Linked DNA regions of Homo sapiens: region 1 is linked to region 2. Evidence: promoter capture Hi-C in 16 types of primary human blood cells and fetal thymus (Javierre and others, 2016). All regions are on one chromosome and are shown on one strand. The core of a region is centred on a gene start or on the middle of the fragment in contact, and the rest is flanking DNA. Distances in the headings are between cores, read along the strand shown.

Region 1 (4,039 bases), core at 1,515-4,014, 50 kb before region 2:
GGGTTCATATCCCAGAACCACCAATGAGCTAGTTTCTCCCACAATAATCCTAGCCACTTCCTTGTCCAGATATTTTAAGATGAGAAAAAAAGAAGACTGATTCTTTCAGTGACCAAAATCCACCTGGGTGTACAGGCTACCATCTCTCTGGGGGGACTCGGAGGGGTTTTCTAGCTCTTTCCAGCCTCAGATCCCATCCCAGGAGTACACAGTAAAACCGGACATGGAGTAGGAGGAGGAACCCTGATGATATTCAGGAAAACCCCCTCCTGGTGAGCAGACCGTCTTCAATTCAGTAAACCGAAGACTGATCTTGTCACATTCAGATGTGTAATTAATGCCTGCTACATCGCGAAAAGCATCTATACCAGGTAGACAGTAATTTACTTTCCCATAAAACTTTAACACTTTTGCTAGAAACACTATTTTTTTTTTCACAACACATTGAAAGACTATTATCCAGGCAGCCTCTCTTTCGCAGGGACGTAGGGAGGGAAAATCTTTTAAGGGACTGGCATTCCATATTGGTACTTGAGCGTCTTGGCAGTGGGACGCATCGCCCTCTCACAGGGGTGACTGCCTGACTAATGAGGTCGCCCCCAGCAACATCCACATTTTAGACTGTATTGTGTGAGCTGCCCCAAATTGAGGTGATCTCCTGTCCAGACCAGGCTGTACTTTGGTTATTTACTTGCAATGAGATATCAAGAGACTGAAAGTGGTTTAAAAAAAAAACAAAAATCTCTTCCCTAATATATGGTGTATTATTATTATTATTATTATTATTATTATTATTATTTTGAGATGGAGTCTCACTCTGTTGCCGAGGCTGGAGTGCAATGGCACTATCTCGGCTCACTGCAACCTCAGCCTCCTGGGTTCAAGCGATTCTCCTGCTTCAGCCTCCTGAGTACCTGGGATTACAGGCATGCATAGCCACCCCTGGCTAATTTTGTATTTTTAGTAGAGACGGGGTTTCTCCATGTTGGTCAGGCTGGTCTTGAACTCCTGACATCAGGTGATCCGCCTGCCTCAGCCTCCCAAAGTGCTGGGATTACAGGCGTGAGCCAACACGCCAGGCGTTTCTGTTTGTTTGTTTGTTTTATTTTTAGTAGAGATGGGATTTCACCATGTTGGCCAGGCTTGTCTCAATCCTCTGACCTCAAGTGATCCACCTGCCTTGGCCTCCCAAAGTGCTGGAATTACAGGTGTGAGCCACTGTGCCTGGCCTCACATCTCCTCCTTTTAACAGGATAAACTAAACAGGCCTCAAGAATGTGACCTCCCACGCTCCTCCATGAACAGCTCTCTCCCTGCGTCCCAGCAACCAAAGACACTTGTTGATTTGGGAAAAACCCAGAGGAAGGATTCTGTCTGGATTTTCTGGTACCACTGACGCATTTTCACCCAGGCACATTCATCTGGTTCAAGACTGAATCTTTCCCTTTTTCATGAAACAGATTCTCCCCCTCTTTTAAGCCTCTGTGGGCTCCAGAATGAGTTGAACCGCTGTATCTTCTCATCACAGCGTTTCCCTCTTTGGACATGGGCTGAGACACACAGATTTCACGACTTCCTCTTTGGAGAAGGCATGAAAGGACCTGCAGCCACGGCCCCATACGTTTCAAGAGAGGCAAGGCTTTCACCCTCCGTGTCTTTCACAGCCATCCGCCCACAGCCTCTTAACTTCCTGACATTAAACAAAAACGAAACCGAGGTTTCCCTAATTGGGGATCATCATCAAGAATCTGTCATGGGGTCTCTTAGAAATTAATTCAACTCGATTGTTCTTCAGACCTCCGCTAAGGAGCCGGCGTGTTACTCTCGACACCAACTTGTCCCATCTTCATCCTATATTAGCTCCCTAACAGGGTTGCACGATCAGCTCCTAGGCTGCAAATTAGAAAAATGGGCGATGATTCCAGCAGCTACGCCTCGGCACTCTCACGCCGGATTACTGTGATGGTCTCCTTGCAAGGCTTCCGGATCTTTCTATGTGGGTTGAAATTGGTTCCAACTGTAACTTCCTGTTGATCTCCCACCCTGAATTCCCTCATTGATGCAACATTTTGTTAAAAAAGAACTTCACCGAATTACCCATTTCATGGAAATTGCAATAGGGTATTGACTTGTATAGTTAATGAAGCTTTCAAAAAAGCACTCCTGTAGCCATCATCTAAATGCCCCTCTGGCCACCAAAACTGTGCATGTAATTCACTGTAGTGAGGATTCCTGAGTCTCCCTAAGGGAGATCCAGTAGGATCAGTTCTGGGTGGGATCCGTCAGCAAACACAACCTATTGCCCGCCTCCTTCTGGTTTCCAGTCCCGGGGGGTAATTGATGTCTTAGTGCACACAGAGCCGGACCATGGAGCTAAGTAGATATGGGTTTCCAACTCATCCCGGCCACTTCCCAGGGGCATGTCCAGGGGCAAGTTAGTAACTCTCTTGAACCTCAGTTTCCTCATCTGCAGAGTGTGGATCATCACAAACCTACCTTCTGGGGTTGCTAGGGGATTAAAGGAGATAAGGAGCATAGCAGGGCTGGCCCTGTGCCTGCCTGGAGTGGGCACCAAGCTGACTTCGCTGGGGCTCTCCCGGCCCCACATACCTGCAATGGTTTTGCCTTTGGCTCGATGTCTGAAGCCTTTGCATTTCTGAAGGGAGTGATGTAAATCAAGCCATGCTTATGATTAAAAACATCCAACGTTCAGCTCAGTTGTTTGTCCTATTTTGGCAACATCCTATTCTTTTGTTGTTGCTGTTTTTGAGATAGGATCTTGCTCTGGGGCCCAGACTGGAGTGCAGTGGTACAATCATGGCTCACTGCAGCCTCAACCTCCTGGGCTCAAGTGATCCTCCTGCCTCAGCCTCCCGAGTAGCTGGGACTATAGGTGTTCACCACCATGCCTGGCTAGTTTTTTAATTTTAATAGAGATGAGGTCTCATTATGTTACCCAGACTGATTTCAAACACCCAGGCTCAAGTGATCCTCCCACCTCAGCCTTCCAAAGTGCTGCCATTACAGGTATGAGCCACCACACCTGGCCAACCTTCTCCTCTTATCTGTGGGAAACCTTGGGGCATTACTGAAGAAAAAATTGTGATGTCCAAATCCTGCACTGTACCCCAGTGCAAGGTGGTAGGTGTTGAAGTAGAAAATGATAAGACGTAAATCGTCAGCAAAAGCCAAAGAGAGAGGTAAAAAATGTATGAGCACTAAATGAATTGATTTTCATAAAATTAGCGTTATACTGTATAATAATGTTTCCCAATATAAAGTCTTTTTCATATTAATATTTATAACATTGTAAAGATTAAATCATACCTTTGTGATTATTTTAATTTTTTTTAACCTTATTCTGTTCCAAAGATAAAGCTTGGTTGTGTTTTTTGTGTGTGTGGGGGGGGGGTTTGGGTTTTTTTTGGCCTTTATCTTTAGAATGTTCTAGTGACATTCTGAATTCTTCCAACAGGGCGATATTGTTATTTTAATAATGGTTATGCACAACACATATAGGAATCTGTCATGGAGTTGGTGGGAATGAAAAGGCTACTTAGATACCCAGCTTGAAAAGCTTTCATGTTTTTATGTTTAATTTGCAACAATCTTCCTTCTTTGCACAGGAGGTGATACATTACTGAAATAGGAGATCAGGCCAGGTGCGGTGCCTCACGCCTATAATCCCCACACTTTGGGCAGCCAACGTGGGAGGATCACTTGAGCTTCAGAGTTTGAGACCAGCCTGAGCCACATAGCAAGACCCCCCTTTTCTACAAAAAAAAAAAAAAAAATTAAAAATTAGCCGAGCATGGTGGCATGCATCTGTGGTCTCAGCTACTCAGGAGGCTAAGGCAGGAGGATTGCTTGAGCCCGGGAGGTAGAGGCTGCAGTGAGCTATGATTGAACCACTGCACTCCAGCGTGGGCAACAGAGCAAGACCTTGCTCTAAAAAATTAAAAAAAAAAAAATAGGAAGGAAGAAAATAGGAAATCAACCAATGCAGCTCTCACCACCTCCTACATCCGGTTCTGGGGTT
Region 2 (4,600 bases), core at 2,026-4,525:
GAGATAGATGGATAGATCTGTGATAAAGCCAATATAGCAAAATGCTAGTTGTAGAATCAAGTGGTGGGGTATATGCGGATTCACTAGATGGTTCTTCTAACTTTTCTGAACATTTAAAATTTTTAATAAGATATTGGAGGAGAAACAGGCTTGTCTTAATGAACTAGACCCGCATGCAGTCCCATCTATAAAAGTCAGAAACATAACGCTGAGTGAAAGGGACCAGGCTGCCGAAAGAACGCATGCATGCTGCCGTTTACATGCAGTTCACAAACAGGCAAACTGACTGATGCTGTCAGAGGCAGGAATGTGCCTACCCTTGGTGGCGGAGTGACTGAAACGAGACACAAGGGGGTTTCTGGGGTGCAGATAAAGTTCCATGTTTTGATAGAATGAAGTGCGGGTGTGGGTTACACTCGCACTTGGGATAATGGCCTCCAGTTCCATCCAAGTTGCTGCAAAAATTCATGGGACTTTGCAGCATTTGTGTACTTTACTGCATACATATCTCTACAGACATGTTTCATTGTTTTAAGGCACTGCCCTCATTTCGTATCTTGCAGGAGGGAAATCTGAGCTCTTCTTTAAAATGACAGGCCAGATGCCGTGGCTCATGTCTGTAATCCTGACACTTTGGGAGGCCTGAGCGAGAGGATCACTTGAGGTCAGGAGTTCAAGACCAGCCTGGGCAACATAGTGAGACTTCATCTCTACAGAAAATTAAAAAATTAGCCAGGCGTGGTGGCGTGCACTTGTAGTCCCAGCTTCTCGAGAGGCCAAGGCGGGAGGATGGCTTGAGCCAAGGAGGTCAAAGCCGCAGTGAGCCTTGATCAAGCCACTGTACTCCAACCTGGGCAGCAGAGCGAGACCCTGTTTCAAAAATAATAAAATGAAATAAAATAAAATGCTTGCCGGGCGCATGGGCTCACACTTGTAATCCCAGCACTTTGGGAGGCCGAGGTGGGCGGATCATGAGGTCAGGAGTTAGAGACCAGCCTGACCAACATGGTAAAACCCCATCTCTACTAAAAATACAAAAATTAACCAGGTGTGGTGGTGCGTGCCTGTAATCCCAGCTACTCAGGAGGCTGAGGCAGGACGATCACTTGAACCCGGGAGGTGGAGGTTGCAGTGAGCCGAGATCGTGCCACTGCACTCCAGCCTGGGCAACAGAGTGAGACTCCATCCCAAATAAATAAATAAATAAATAAAATGCCACTGCCTGATTTAGAGGTTTCATGGAGTACAAGCAGCTTCCCCAGTCCCAGGTAGGCAGTGAGATGTATCCTTAGGGACCAAGGCCTAGAAGGCTGTGGGTCTTGGTGTTAGAAGGCTGTGGGTCTTGGTGTTCATTTTAGAAACTTTCTTTACGGCCCTTGCTTGCATTTCTGAACACGCTTTACAGGAAGCAAACTCGTGTCTTCCTTCATCCCTAGCACATGTGCATCAGTGCAAACAGACTCCTCACTGGTATTTCAGATTCTTCCGTGCTTGGACCAATGTCCCATTTTTTATTTATTGTCTTGCTGAAAATTTAATTTATTGAAGGCCTTTCCTTCTAGCAGCTCGAGGAACTTTTCTCAGAACACTTAAAACATGAAACAGAAGCCTACATTCTCTAGCCATAATGAGGGGATCAAAAGAGAGGGAGATAGATGAGAGGAGAATGGTAAACTGAGGCAGAGTAGAATGAGAGGTGCAGAGGCTGGGGCAACGGGGGGGCGGGCGGTGCAGGAGGCAGTGCAATTGCAGCAAGAGAATAGAAACTAAGGTTTTCTGGGTAGGCATGGCTCATCCAGATTTTTATTTCAATAGCTTTAGGGGTACTTGCGGTTTTGGGTTACGTGGATGAAGCGTATAGTGGTGAAGTCTGGGCTTTTAGTGCATCAGTCACTGGAATAGTGCACATTGTACAGTATACATTGTACCCAATAGGTGATTTTTCATCCCCTACCCCCTCCCATTCTTCCCCCTTCTGAGTCTCCAACGTCCATGATCCCACTCTGCCTGCCTTTGCCTACCCATAGCTTAGCTCTCGCTTTTAAATAAGAACATGTAGTATTTGGTTTTCCACTCCTGAGTTACTTCACTTAGGATAATGGCCTCCAGTTCCATCCAAGTTGCTGCAAAATACTTTATTTCGTTCTTTTTTATGGCTGAGTAGTATTGCATGGCGTGTGTGTGTGTATCACATTTTCTTTCATCCAGATTTTTGAGTCTGCAATCCATGTAAACCCTTGGGACCATCCCACCCATGACGATGGCCATTTGGGGTAAATTATTAAAATGATGACATCCAGCTGGGCGCAGAGGCTCATGCCTGTAATCCCAGCACTTTGGGAGGCTGAGGTGGGCATATCACTTGAGGTCAGGAGTTCGAGGCCAGCCTGGCCATCATGTTGAAACCCCATTTCTACTAAAAATACAAAAATTAGCCAAGTTTGGTGGTGCACGCCTGTGGTCCCAGCTACTCGGGAGGCTGAGGTGGGAGAATCGCTTGAACCCAGGAGGTGGAGCTTGCAGTGAGCTGAGATTGTGCCACTGCACTCCAGCCTGGGTGACAGAGCGAGACTCCATCTCAAAAAATAAAAATAAAGTAAAATGATGACATCCAAATCACAGTTTCTCTTACAAGTATACTTCACCGGAACATCGAGGGCACAAGCTGATGGTGGGTGTCTTGGACCCCAAAGCTGTCGGGGTGAGGAAGGCCTTTGAAGGGGTGCTGACCACCCGGCATGCCCAGGAAGCTTCCAGAACAGGGGCTGAGGGAGGAAAGAGGCTTGGGGTGTAGGAGGCTGCAGGATTTGATGTGGGGCACCCCGTTCCCCTCCCATTGCAGTGACAGGCTCTGGAATTTCTTCAGAAATTCAGCTAGATCTCGGGAGCCAGTGCCCTGGAGAACCTAGAAGGGAGAGAGCCCCTCCCAAGGCCCCACCTGGACTCTGCCGGGGGTCACGGCTGGGTGGGGACTGATGCCCAGACTGGTCCAGCCTCACCCCGACTGATGCAGGTGGGCTGGGCCCTGAGACTCGCCTTGGTCTCCCCATCTCCGGCTCCCTGATCTGTCCCCAAGCACCCCCACCCCCGGCCCTGTCCCCACTCCCACCCCCACCTCCTTGCCGCCCTCCTCCCGAAGCACCGACTCCGCCCCCTCCCTCTCTTCCTTATCTTTTTCTAACCTTTCGCATTTTTTAGTCTCATTTCCTGTCGGGTTTTGCATTTCCCTCCCCCGCCCCTCCCAGCCTATGACATACTTTCTCTCCTTTTTTCTCTCCTGCCTCCTCTGGCCTTCGGACTCCTGCCCGCGCCGCCCGCAGCCCCCTCCCGGCCCTGCAGCCCCTGGGCGGGCGGCGCCCCTCGGAGGACGGCTCCGGGCCCGGGGGGACGGAGGGCCTGGTCGCCTGGAGGAAGCCGGAGGCCTGCGTGGAGGAGGCGCCCCGCGCAGCTGGCTGGCGGAGCATGAGCGCCCCAGGTAGGCGCAGCGGGGATGGGGGAGCTGGCGGAGGGGGAGCACGAGGCGGGGAGTTGGGGGAAGAGAAGAGGGCACGGGGAGGAGATGGGGGGCATCAGTGAGATGACACGGTGGCGGGGGGGGCGTCGGGGGATGGGAGTGGCTCCCGCTGGTCCCGCGATGCTGGGGGTATCCTTCCCTCTCCATCTCTGTCCCCCTGCCCCCCTTCTCTCTCTCACTCTCCTCTCCCCTTTTTCCCTTCCAACCCTTTTTCTCCCTCACTTTCCACCTCGTGTGCCTCTCCTCCGTGTCTCTTTGAGCGTCTCTGAGTATCACCGCCCAGCAAAGCCCCCACCTCCTCCTACTGGACAGGAAAAAATCGGGGGTCAGGAGGCTGCAGCCCCTTGGTGCACCTGCCCCAGAGGGAGGAAGAGAAACTTTTCTGACACCTGAAAGGCCCGGAAGTTTGCAGACCACAGCCCAGCCTGACTCAGAGGCTCCTGGGAAGGTGGGGCCTGGCTCAGGGAGGAAGGGCAGCCGCACCAAAAGTGGGTGTGGAGCTGGGAGATGGGAGAGGACAGCCCCCCGCGGGGACTGTACTAGAAAGGGGGTGGCGGGGGCACAGGAGAGGGCCCAGGTTCCCGACTGAAACCCGGAGCAGGTCCTAGCGGCCTCAGGCCTGAAAGCCACCTCCCCCAGGAGGCCCCTCCAGGCCCGATGGGGCCACCAGGCCTTCTGCTGAGCCCCCTCTGCAGATAGGGGCAGAGAGGGTGTTTCTGTCCCTCGGGGGCTCTGAGCACCGCTGGAGGCTGTCACGGGGACCCAGGTTCATGGACAGTGGTCTCAGCTGTGAGCTTCGGGGCTGCCCACACAAACTTGGTCTTGGACCAAACTGACCTCTCTCTGCCTGGCCTGCTCTCAAAGCCTTTGATTTGTAGTTCAAAACATTTTCTCCTAATATTTATGACTCGTCTTGAAGGTATAAGGTTACCAACCTACCAGAAAGGGGAGAAAAATAGTCGATCGTTCATTCCACATTTATTGAGCGCTCAGCCTGTGCATAATGCGTGCCGGAAATCCCGGGAGCCGGGAATTGATATGAGGACAGGAATTTCTCCGTAAGTGTCCACTTCTGCGCTTTCGCGG

What was found. Contacts are between HindIII fragments. The CHiCAGO score rates a contact against its expected background, and 5 or more counts as called.
Region 1: a fragment that was not itself captured here is called in contact with the fragment with the promoter of CARD11 in region 2 in 1 of 17 cell types (total CD8 T cells); the score reaches 5.4 in total CD8 T cells.

The regions. Positions count from the first base shown.
Region 1 is chr7:3,092,799-3,096,837 of GRCh38, reverse strand. It overlaps LOC105375130 (a long non-coding RNA gene), which reads left to right. Exons shown (of 2, transcript XR_007060191.1): 2 at 1,253-2,712. Among named protein-coding and RNA genes, the nearest start is that of CARD11, 51 kb to the right of the region's middle. The HindIII fragment of the contact is 1,232 bases long and covers 2,149-3,380 here.
Region 2 is chr7:3,042,542-3,047,141 of GRCh38, reverse strand. It overlaps CARD11 (caspase recruitment domain family member 11), which reads left to right and starts at 3,275. Exons shown (of 25, transcript NM_032415.7): 1 at 3,275-3,475. RefSeq lists an enhancer at 3,053-3,347 and a silencer at 3,213-3,562. The HindIII fragment of the contact is 15,618 bases long and covers 2,753-4,600 here.